2 separate regions of the Homo sapiens genome follow, and region 2 is linked to region 1. The links are contacts of gene promoters, found by promoter capture Hi-C in blood cells and fetal thymus (Javierre and others, 2016). All regions are on one chromosome and are shown on one strand. The core of a region is centred on a gene start or on the middle of the fragment in contact, and the rest is flanking DNA. Distances in the headings are between cores, read along the strand shown. Region 1 holds the start of TPCN2 (two pore segment channel 2). Region 2 overlaps CPT1A (carnitine palmitoyltransferase 1A).

Region 1 (6,029 bases), core at 478-2,977:
AATACACAATTTACAGGTTGCGGGGGTAGAGGAATAGTCACTTATGCCTTAGTCTGGCTCGGTGAATCTGCACTTTTATACCAGAGGAAGCAATCAGGTGAGCAGAGGGATGACTTAGAGTTCCATCCTTTGTTTGGAACCTGTGAAGATCAGTTGTCAATGTACATTGTTAGGGTAAAATTCAACAAAACTGTTTTAGGGTAAAGATCTTGGGTGCCCACGAAAAATTTCCTAGCGGGCAAATTGTGAGGGAGGTATGTAGCTTTTTAAATCTTCGTAGCTATTTTATTAAAGAAGAAAAGGCGAGGCAGTTTGCCCAACGCAGTTCCCAGCTTGACTTTTCCCTTTGGCTTAGTGATTTTGGAGTCCTGAGATTTATTTTCCTTTCACAGTTATGATGGTAAATTTTATATTTATTTTAAACCCTCCCCCCTCCCCAAAAGAGGGGGAAAAAGTAAAGAGGTATGGCAGAAGGGGAAGTCACAGAGATTGGAAGCGTCTTGCAGCACCTTTTTTTTTGAGATGGAGTCTCGCTCTGTTGCCAGGCTGGAGTGCAGTGGCGCAATCTCAGCTCACTGCAATTTCCGCCTCCCGGGTTCAAGCGATTCCCCTGCCTCAGCCTCCGAGTAGCTGGGACTATAGACACGTGCCACCACGTCTGGCTAACTTTTTGTATTTCAGTAGAGACGGGGCTTCACCATGTTGGCCAGGATGGTCTCGATCTCCTGACCTCGTGATCCACCTGCCTCGGTCTCCCAAAGGGCTGGGATTACAGGCGTCTTGCTGCATCTCGAAGCGTCTTCAGCGTGCTCTTGCTTGCTGGCTCTGATGATGGAGGTGTTCAAGCCATCGTGGAAGGAATGCAGTGGCCTCTAGGAGTGAGAATGACACCAGCCAACATCCAGCAAGAAGACGTGGACTTCAGTCCTAGGCCCATGGAGACAATTCTGTTAACATCCTGGATGAGCCTGGAAGTGGGCTTTCCCCAGAGTCTGCAGATAAGAGCCCACGGCAGCTGACATTTTGACTCTAGCCTCGTGAGGCCCTGAGACAGGAGGTTTCCTGCCCCGCAGGACTGAAAGATGATGAATGGGAGTTATTTTATATTTTCAGATTGTGGTAATTAGTCACTGTAGCAATAGAAAACGAATACAAGGTCTTTATGCATTAATGTTGAAAACACTTTTTATATACGTTGTAAATATTTTTTAAGTGTGTCATATGTTTTTAAACTTTTCCCTTAATGATATTGAATCCTCCTAATTTCACCATCAGAGGGTAAACTCCAGTTCCATTCTGGGGGGAGTCCTTTGCAGTCACCCCGTGTACTCAATACTCACATGCATCAGAATCACCCCGAATGCTTGTTAAAACACAGATTCCTGGGTCCTCCCCGCAGAGTTGCTGATTTAGTAGGTTTAAGGGCCCAAGAATTTGCATTTCTAAAATGTTTCCAGGTGATGCTGAAGCTTCTGGCCGGAAAGACATCCTTTGAGAACATATTTCCTCCCCAGCCCTCGGCCCTTAAGCCCCAGAACGCTGCCCCGCCCTGGGTGGAACGAAGCTGAGCTCCACCCTAGAGGGGCGGGGCCCTTTAGCTCCGCCCCACTCAGGAGAACCCCACCCCTCCCTCCCCGTTCTCATTGGCTGGGACTGCAGGGATCCCCTGCGCCACAGTGCCGTGCGCGCGTCAGCAAAAACGCCAGGGACGGGGTCTCCGCGCCTGCGCAGTGAAGCTGGGCGCCTTCGGGGCTTGAGCTTCTGAGGGTCGGGTCCAGCGCGTGGGCTGCTGGATGGCGGAACCCCAGGCGGAGTCGGAGCCCCTGCTGGGCGGGGCCCGCGGCGGTGGCGGCGACTGGCCGGCGGGGCTGACCACTTACCGCAGCATCCAAGTCGGCCCTGGTGAGCCGCCCGGACCTGGGGAGGGGACTGGCCCGGGAGACCAGGGTCGCGCGTGGGGGTCCCGCTGTCCCAGCACCCCGCTTTCTGCCGGGCGCGCCCCCACCAGGTTCGAGTCCGAGCGGGGCCCGGGCCGCGCCGGGTGCCAGGCGAGCCGGTGTTCTGAGGGCGAGTGGGCTGCGTCCTGCGGACCCGGACCGGGGTCAGGGCAGAGCTGGGGTCTCTTCCGTGTCGCGTCCTGATCCCGACCAGCTGGGCGAAGAGGCCCTCGCCCAGCCTTGGGCAGCCCCGAGGGAACCGGCCACCTGCGGCAGGCACCCTCCGTGTGCCCGGGCGGGCCCAGACCCCATACTTCCCGACTGTCGCCGTAATGAGGGTCGCCTAATTGACTCAGAGAAGGCAGCACTTTGATTTTTCCCGTTTCTTCTGGAAAAAGCAGAGGCTCACAGAGAGGCGTTACCCTACCCAAGGTCACACACCCAGTAAGTGGCCGAGGTGGGATTCGAACCAGTTGGGAGCTAGGAGTCCTTTCTTTGTAGGGTGCCTTTCCCCGTCCCACTTCCCGTGGGGCTGGGGCGGGCCCCCTAGACGGGGGCGGCTTCCTCTCCTTGCCCTCTGCCACCCCAGAGTCCCCTCTGCACTCCCTCCTGCCCTTCCCGTTTTTTGTCCTGGTCTGAAGATTGCTGAATCCGCCCCCCGAGGGTGGGGTGCGTCCGCCCCTCGCTGACACCAGGGGAATGAGATTCTGGATTAAGAGGTGGAAGGACCTTAGCTTCACTTCACAGATGAGGAAACTGAGGCCCAGAGAGGCCCTGAGACCTGCCCAAGGTCACAGCCCTCTGTTCTGGTGCGGCTGCTGCTCGAACCACTCTGAGAATTCACACCTGGCTCCTTCCCTCTCTGGCCTCTCTTTCCTTCTTTCCTCCTCTGTCTGGAAGGAACTGGGTTGGAATCCTGGTGCCCACCCACTGGTCTGTGGCATGTGCCCATCCATGGAGTAATGAGGGGCCAAGGAGGGGACCCTGACGAGAGATGAAAAACCAGAGGCCAAGGTGGCCACCCTGTCTGCTCACCTCAGAAGCTGCCTCCAGGAAGTTCTTCAGGTGCTTCCTGGGACCAGTCAGGAAGGAGATCTGCAGGGAGCAGCTCTGGCAGGCCCCTTGATGAGACGCCCAGCATATGGCACCGTTCAGGGAACACAGACTTTGTGTCTAGGGGTCTGGGCGCCTTTCTGGGGCTGCACTGGCTGTGTGACCTTGGCAGGTTGCTTAACCTTTCTGTTTCTTTTTTGAGATGGAGTATCACTCTGTCACCCAGGCTGGAGTGCAGTGGCGTGATCTCGGCTCACTGCAGCCTCTACCTCTGCTGGGTTGAAGCGATTCTCCCGCCTCAGCCTCCCAAGTAGCTGGGACTGCAGGCGCCCGCCACCACACTTGGCTAATTTTTGTATTTTTAGTAGAGATGGGGTTTCACTGTGTTGGCCAGGGTGGTCTCAAACTCCTGACCTCGGGTGATCTGCCTGCCTCGGCCTCCCAAAGTGGTGGGATTACAGGCGTGAGCCACTGTGCCTGGCCATGCTTCACCTTTCCGAATCTCAGTAAAAGGGAGATAATACTAAGGACTGCCTGGCGGGCATTGTGAGGATTCAGAGAGAATCCAGAGTTTGTCCTCAGCACAGGGCCCGGCGGGCTGGTGTGGGGGCCAGTGGCCGTCCTGGGTAAGCTCTGTGATCATTGCAGGTCCTCCCTGGCAGGTGAGACCCGCTCTGCTGGGCAGTGTGGCTGACAAGAGGAGGCTCTCGGGGAGCGCTCTTTGTCCCTATGCTGTGGCCTCAGCCAGGGCTTCTGAGAACGTGGACAGGACGCTCTGTGTTCTGAATCCCCTTGGCCAGGGTCCCCAGCAAGGACTGGCAGACTATGGAGCCATGGAGACTCCGAAAGGCTCATTCAGTCTCTGTGCTGAGGCCTGTGCCAGGCTTTGAAATGAAGGCCCTGTGCTCTGGTTTGCAAGTCCTGTGGTTGGTCTCTTGCCAACGGGTTGTGGTGAGGGCTGCTGCTGTGGGTGCCCCAAGGACCCCAGTGGACCCTGCTGTTGGGTCGTTTTGACTTGGCCCCACCTGATGGGGCCGGGGTCAAAGGTTGAGAACAGTTGTTTTCTCTTGTTGCTGGGTCAGAAAAATCACACTTTTACTGGTTATCAAACAAGTCAGAGGACAAGGGATTGCGATGCTGTAGAGGCTTTCAGAGTAACTGAATGCTTATGAAGGGCTCACTTAGCAAAGTACTCTGGCTATAGTAAGTCATTCAGTCTGTACTTAGCTCCTATTGGGTGGGGGTCCATGAGGACCTGGAGCACCTAGAGGTTAAGGGACTTGCCCAGGGTCACAGAGGATGATGGTCAGGACCCTACACAGGTTGTGCAGCCTGGAGCCTGGAGCAACAGGGGAGCGGGAGCTCAGACCTGGATGTTGCGGGGCAGAGGCTTGGATTAGGAAGCCGTGTCGAGGCCTGGTGTGCCGGATGCAGCATCTCAGCCCCTGCTGTCCTCTGTGCCTTGCAGAACCCTTCAGCCCCAGTGGGTGATGGTGTGTGGAAAGGTGATTGTCCCCCAGGGTGATGAGCTCAGGGCGGGGCGAGCTGTCCCAAGGGAGTCCCTGGACTCACAAATTGGGGGATGGTGCTCCTGGCAGAAGCAGCAGCCTGAGTAAAGGGTTGGAGGCTTTGGAGAGCATGGCCTTGGCAGAGCCCAGTTCGGAATGAGTGGCACTGAGGGTTGAAAGGCAGGAGAGAGGCGGGCCGGCAAATGTGGGAACCTGCAGTGCCAGACCAGGGTGGAGTGTGGGCCTGGAATAGTGGGGGCCCAGGGGAAGCTGCGATGTGCTTCTGAGTGTTTGGAACGAGATCCTTGGGCTGTTGCAGGGTGAAACGGAGGATGGCCAGACCCAGAATTTTACAAACCAGCAACCAAAAAGCCAGGCGAAAGGGAACCACGAGTGCTGGATGGTTCCAGGGGTGCCCACCACTGTTGGCCTGGGATGGCTGGCCTGGGTGGATGTGAGTACTTTCCGTGGTCCTGGGGCTGGAGTGAGGCCCGGAACTCGGCCGCTTGTCTCTTGTCTAAGAAGCTTGTATCACTAGATCTCTCCTGGTAGAGATTTTGTCTTCTCCCAGGGAATCTGGTAAGGTGGGGCCTCTCAGATCACCGGCCCCCCAGGCTCCCCTCAGGGCTGTTCATTTATTCATGGGATATATCAGCTTTGAGTCCTGTGTGCTTGACTTCTGGGCTCTGCAGATACAGCAGGGAACAAAACAGTGTGGCTTCTGTTCATAGCGATCCCAGGATGTGCTCAGGGGACATAAACAGTAGCCACTTTCAGAGCTTCCCTGGGGAGACATTCGGGTGTCCTCAGGGTGGGTCTCGTGGCTGTGCATGTGGGCACCAAAGCCACAGGGAGGGAAGGCTCTTGCTCCCGGCAGTGCAGCAGGGCCGGGCAGAGTGAGGGTGGGGTCCGGTCTCCTGCCTCTGTCTGGGGCCCCTCACACCTCTAATCCGTCCAGGGCCCAGCTGCCTATACCTCATGCCCCCAAGCAGGAGCCCCGAGGACAGGGGCAGCTGCCTCCCTAAGGATGGCCAGTGGCGTGGGCGGGTCATGGCCTGGAGCTCTGCCTGGGGACCAGCACCTCCTGAGGCCTCTGCTGCTGCCTCCCATGTCACCACATTGTCTTGGTGCAGCTGTGGGCCCCAAGGGGCCAGGTGTGAAAGCCGAGTCTCAACTGAAAAAGCAGCTGCTTCACCCTCTCCCCGTGCTGGGAAGTGTCAGCCTCTCCGGGCTCCTCAGTTGCTTCGGGTTGAGTTTTCCTTCCCTGTTGGCCTGCTGGGGAGCAGCTCTGCAGCGAGGCCAGAGGTGGCCCGTGCCTACGATGCGGGTGGGTGGCCCAGGCTCCCTGCAGTGGCTCAGTGGCTGACCAGGTGCGCCCGCTGGCTGCTCTGTGGCAGGTGAGGGGCTTGTGAGCAGGCCAGGGTGCTGGGTCCTGGCTTCTGTGCCGCCTGACTTTTCCTGAAGGCCCCTCCTAGTCAGGAGCCACTGCCGCTTTTGCCCAGGCCTGCCGGGAGGCTCCACCCTGCTTGTG
Region 2 (6,109 bases), core at 1,770-4,269, 290 kb before region 1:
ATATGTTTAAGCACTCACGTCTACACTCAAAATGCCCTGTGAACTCTAGTGTAACACAGATTGCTCAGTGGTCAACAGTGCATGATCTAGCTGGCTCTGATAGGGACTGACGCCGGCTGCTGGCTTTTAACGGGAAGTGCTATTCTTGCCCAGGGCAGAGAGAGCTACATCCCCGCTGCCTGCTTGACGGACAGTCAGGGGCTTTTGTTGTTGGTTTGTTTTTGCTTTTTTTTTTAGACGGAGTCTCGCTCTGTCGCCCAGGCTGGAGTGCAGTGGAGCGATCTCGGCTCACTGCAAGCTCCGCCTCCCGGGTTCACGCCATTCTCCTGCCTCAGCCTCCTGAGTAGCTGGGACTACAGGCGCCCGCCACCACGCCCGGCTCATTTTTTGAATTTTTAGTAGAGACGGGGTTTCACCGTGTTAGCCAGGATGGTCTCCATCTCCTGACCTCGTGATCCGCCCGCCTTGGCCTCCCAAAGTGCTGGGATTACACGCATGAGCCACCGCGCCTGGACGCTTTTTTTTTTTTTTTTGTCTTTTGTTTTCATTTTTTCTTGCTTTCAGGAGAAAAAAAATCTTTGGCCCATAAAGGTGGGATTTTTACATCATGAAGTATACATACATAAAACATGCATGTGGGCCGCGCATGGTGGCTCATGCCTGTAATCCCAGCACTTTGGGAGGCTGAGGCAGGTGGATCACCTGAGGTCAGGAGTTCGAGACCAGCCTGACCAATATGATGAAACCCCGTCTCTACTAAAAATACAAAAATTAGCAGGGCATGGTGTTGGGCGTGTAATCCCAGCTACTTGGGAGGCTGAGACAGGAGAATCGCTTGAACCTGCAAGGCAGATGCTGCAGTGAGCCGAGATTGCACCACTGCACTCCAGCCTGGGCAACAAGAGTGAAACTCCATCTCAAAAAAAAAAAAAAAAAAAAAGGCACGTGTTCTCCGGCAAGCACCTTCCATCGACTCCAACAGTTCAGCCATCGCTGTTGTACTATCGGGGTGCAGCACTCTGAAGGAGTCAGGCCCAACTAGAACCAAGTGGTCAAAAAAATAAATACACAATTTAAAACAATGGACAGCTAAGCTTGTCATGACAGACAGTGGGAATTTCATTCCATGATGCTTCATTTTTGCATTAAATACTGAAGATGACTCAGTGCATAATTGCTTTGTGGTCCATGAGACGCTTTCGTGAAGGCACTCCTATCTGAAGGACAGGCTGGGTGAACACCTAGCACTGTCACTTGAGACATCTTGGCTGGTCACCAAGGTGAGCCGGCATACTGTCTCCATCACCCTCTGGTGAGTCTTTCCCCTCACCGGGTGGGAGGAGAAGGCCATCCCTTGGGGTCGTGGAGCCACTCTCTCCTCACCACGGTGGGCTGCCCTCCCCTTCCTCACTTGCTAGTCCCCGCTTGGTGGCCGATGCCCTGCCCTCCTTGCTGTCACTTTGGGAAAGAGATCCTCCTGAGGCACGTGTCATGTTTTATTCTTGAGTGAATTATCTGACCATCACGGCCCTTGCTCCCCTTTTATGACATGTGCCTGTTATTTCTTTTGTTGCTTATGATGACAAGAAGGCAGTCCCGGGAGGGGAGTCTGGCACAGCTGCCCTTGGGAAGGAACTGGTGTTTCTGAGGGGGAGGGGGCTGGTGGGGTGTAGCAAATGCTTATGTACGGTTATCCATACTCAGTCAATTGTGAAGGGAACAGTATACCCACAATTCCACCCAAAGACTCTACAAAATAAATCTTTCTCTCCATCTCCCTTACATTTAGGGCCTTTCATTTTTAAGGCACTGGGTTGTGAAGACTTGAAGACATACAAGGTCAGTAAAACTGAAGACCTTGCATCCTGCTTGCTTCAAATGTGGAGAGGCAAACACAGGCTACTGGACCAGACGGGAACGGTTACCCACGGTGACAAAAGCAGGTCTCCAAAGCACAGCATTTTGGTTAGTGCATTCCAGATGTGTTAGCTACAACTGGGGACACCAACTTGAATAACACATTTTTCTTTTAACAAAACAAAAGTTTACCCTGCTTGGATGATGCTAAATGCCCTTAAGCACTAGGCCTTCGGTTGCCACTGAGAAAGCACACCATTTCCATTCCACTGTGTGTGAAGCCACAACCCTACTAATTCCTTCATTAACTCAACAAGATTTGCATCCCTTAATAAATCCAAGCCGATGCGGAGACATCAGGGGAGACTTTATCAGATGTCCCCCAAGGGAGGGCAAGTCTGGAAGTAGTGGGGTTATGCTTCACAGGGGAGAGATACTGTTCTAGGAAAAAAAAACACCCACATTTTCTGGAAGGAAAACTGAGTTTTTTTAAGAGCAGTGTTTCATCCCGAGCTAAGGTCAGGATTAATGCCTATTTTTCATTTGGTTTGCATCAGAAGAGCTCGTTTTCCTTCCCAGCAGCTCCAGTGGAATTACTTTTTGGAATTAGAACTGAGACCAAACAAAGTGATGATGTCAGTCATTGCTTCTTTCAGGTGCCTTCCAAAGCGATGAGAATCCTTTCATGTAAAAACAAAAACCAAAAACCTATTAAAACGTGGCCATCCCCACATTTCAAGCTTTTTCATTTGCAATCTGACCCAATGTTTCATTGAAATTCCTTTCTGCCAGTTCTCTAAGATCTGACCAACGTCTTAAAGCTTAACTTAGACATTCCAGAGAAATGCTGAGGGTAAAGAGATGACAGCTGATGTGTTTGTGCGGGTGTGTTGTCGATCTAAGCCTTCCCCTAATGCCAATGCGTTTATCCCACGGAAAACACAATGACCATCCTGAGCATGGTGGCTCATGCCTGTAATCCCAGCACTTTGGAATCGCTTGAGCCCAGGAGTTCAAGACCAGCCTGGGAAACATGGTGAAACCACATTTCTACAAAAAATACAAAAATCAGCCAGGTGTGGTGGCACTCCCCTATAGTCCCAGCTACTCAGGAGGCTGAAGTAGGAGGATCCCCTGAGCCCAGGAGGCTGAAGCTGCAGTGAGCCGAGATCACACCACTGCACTCTAGCCTGGGTGGCAGAGTGAGACCCTGTCTAAAACAAACAAACAAACAAACAACAAAAGAAAACCGCAGTGAACAAATAAACCCCAACTTCCTCTGTTAACAGCGACAGTGGCATGGGTTGCCAGGCTATGTACGACAAGGAAAGCAGAATATAAATAAGGGCAATGTGCCATGCTAGGGAGGAGGTCCCTTGTTCCATCCACAGAGGAAGCCGGGGGTCCCCTGCTCTGTATGCAGATTTCTTAGTGTGTACCCATTATTTTTAGTTCATCTTCCAAGTGCTAAAGAGTCTGAAAGTTACAGCAGCACTCCAACGTTAAGCTTCAAAACCATTGCTGCCAACAGAGGTAAACATGTTAAACCAAATTAGATACATTTCCTTTTTTTTTTTTTTTTTTCTGAGACGGAGTCTCACTCCATCACCCAGGCTGGAGTGCAGTGGCATGATCCTGGCTCACTACAACCTCCACCTCCCGGGTTCAAGCGATTCTCCTACCTCAGCCTCCTGAGTAGCTGGGATTACAGGCGTGTGCCACCACACCAGCTAAGTTTTGTATTTTTAGTAGAGGCGGGGTTTCACCATGTTGGCCAGGATGGTTTCAAACTCCTCACCTCAAGTGATTGGCCAGCCTCAGCCTCCCAAAGTGCTGAGATTATAGGTGTGAGCCACCGTGCCTGGCTGAGATACATTTGTTTAAAACTAGGTAAAGAGAATTTTGAAATTCACTTATGGCTGGGCACAGTGGCTGAAGCCTGTAATCCCAACACTGGGAGGCTGAGGTAAGAGGATCGCGTGAGCCCAGGAGTTCAAGACTTGCCTGGGAAATGTGGGGAGACCCTGTCTGTACAAACAATTTTTTAATTAAAAAAATTTAGGCCAGGCGCGGTGGCTCATGCCTGTAATCTCAGCACTTTGGGAGGTCGAGGCAGGTGGATCATCTGAGGTCAGGAGTTTGAGACCAGCCTGCCCAACATGGTGAAACCCTGTCTCTACTAAAAATACAAAAAAATTAGCCGGGGTAGTGGCGGGTGCCTGTAGTCCCAGCTACTTGGGAGGCTGAGGCAGGAGAATCACTTGAGCCCGGGAGGCAGAGGTTACAGTGAGCCAAGATCTCGCCCCTGCACTCCAGCCTGGGCGACAGAGTGAGACTGTGTCTCCAAAAAAAAAAAAATTTTTTTTTAAAAGCAGTCCATTTATGTGAAAATTCCCGAAATCAAGTAAAAGCAGGCAGTTGAATTGACTTTTTCTGTCAAATTAAAGATGTGTTTCCTTAAAAAGAATAAAGCAAAAATACCCCATCTTCAGAAAAAGGAACTTCTTTTCATACATACCGTCTCAGGGCAAGAGAACTTGGAAGAAATGTGGAAATTGATGAGGTTCTCTCCCACAAGGATGTACGACACACCATAGCCGTCATCAGCAACCTGGAGGACAAGGGAATTTGAATTTGTTGCTGGGAAATGAGACAACGTGAAAAAGGGACTTTCTAATGTTCTAAATGCAACACTGGCGGGGCTCGGTGGCTTCTCCTTGTAATCCCAGCATTTTGGGAGGCTGAGGCAGGCGGGTCACTTGAGCCCAGGGGTTCGAGACCAGCCCGGACAACATGGTGAAACCCTGTCTCTACAAAAAAATACACACACACACACAAATTAGCTGGGCATGGTGGCATGCATCTGTAGTCCCAGCTACTCAGGAGGTGGAGGTGGGAGGATCACCTGAGATGGGGGAGATTCAGGCTGCCATGAGCCATGATCATGCTTACTGCACTCCAGCCTGGGTGACAGAGCGAGACCTTGTCTCAAAAAAATAAAAAATAAGTGCAAGACTGCCAAGGACATCCATAGCAATGATCAGCAGTAATTCCTTTACGGCGGTAGAACCGCAAGGTAACGGGGGCACCCAGCACGGAGATGGGCCCATCACACCCCATTACCCATCCCATCACCACGCCCCACTGCGCCTCGCCCAGCCCCGCCGCACTCACCGGTCCAAAGCCCCCTCCGCTGGACACGTACTCTGGGTTATTCTCCAAGTCAAACAGCTCCACTTGCTGCTGAGGGGTCTGGCTTGTTGATAATCTCCAAGGCTCAGATAAAACCTATTGAGTGAAACAGGGAAATGTTTCCTAATCCCCTCCTCTACCGTCCCTCAGGAGTCGCTTTGGGAAGACGAGAAAAGCCTGGCTTGGTCTTTTGATTGTTCCACACACCACAAGTCTATGTCTCCAAAGGCCTCACTGGCTTGGGCAGCGTATCTGCAGAGAGCATGCGGGGTGGGTGGGGCCCCCAGACTGGGGCAGGGAGTGCAGGGTGGGGGTGGGGGCATACCAGCAAATAGCATCTCAGACAGTGAAGGTAACAGATATATGGAGTAAGATTCGGAACGGGGACAGAGGTGTCAGACTTGTACCAACTCCCACGAGCCAGCTGCCATATTTTCAGAGAATTTTCAAGCTGGCTATTAAATACAGCCACTATTAAAAATTAAATTTGCCAGGCGCAATGGTTCATGTCTGTAATCTCAGCACTTTGGGAACCCGACGCGGGTGGATTGCCTGAGCTCAGGAGTTCGAGACCAGCCTGGGCAACACGGTGAAACCCCGTCTCTACTAAAATACAACAACAAAAAAAATTAGCCAGGCATGGCAGCGTGTGCCTGTAATCCCAGCTACTTGGGAGGCTGAGGCAGGAGAATAGCTTGAACCCGGGAGGCGGAGGTTTCAGTGAGCCAAGATGGCGCCACTGCACTCCAGCCTGGGTGACAGAGCGAGACTCCATCTCCAAAAAATAAAAAATAAATAAATAAATAAATAAAACTTAAATTAAATTTGAGCTGGGCACAGTGGTGCACATCAGCTACTCAGCAGGCTAAGGACGAAGAATTGCTTGTGTCTAGGAGTTTGAGCCCAGCCTGGGCAACACTGTAAGACCCTGTCTCAAAAAACAATAATAATATATTTCATAAACTTACAATAAAATAAAGGATTTTTAAAACAAAGGTGGTACGCGCTCACAGCTCATCACTCCCTAGTTACTTCCGTGCGTCTTACTGTGACGTAAGCT

The links. Contacts are between HindIII fragments. The CHiCAGO score rates a contact against its expected background, and 5 or more counts as called.
Region 2: a fragment that was not itself captured here is called in contact with the fragment with the promoter of TPCN2 in region 1 in 1 of 17 cell types (fetal thymus); the score reaches 5.0 in fetal thymus.

What each region holds. Positions count from the first base shown.
Region 1 is chr11:69,047,205-69,053,233 of GRCh38, forward strand. TPCN2 (two pore segment channel 2) reads left to right here and starts at 1,728. Exons shown (of 25, transcript NM_139075.4): 1 at 1,728-1,902. The coding sequence starts at 1,794. RefSeq lists silencers at 1,466-1,685, 1,806-1,975, 2,056-2,155 and enhancers at 4,132-4,706, 5,857-6,029. The HindIII fragment of the contact is 3,554 bases long and covers 1,468-5,021 here.
Region 2 is chr11:68,755,194-68,761,302 of GRCh38, forward strand. It overlaps CPT1A (carnitine palmitoyltransferase 1A), which reads right to left. Exons shown (of 19, transcript NM_001876.4): 17 at 5,032-5,145; 18 at 4,376-4,468; 19 at 1-2,537. The coding sequence ends at 2,451. Among named protein-coding and RNA genes, the nearest start is that of TESMIN, 6.7 kb to the left of the region's middle. The HindIII fragment of the contact is 686 bases long and covers 2,677-3,362 here.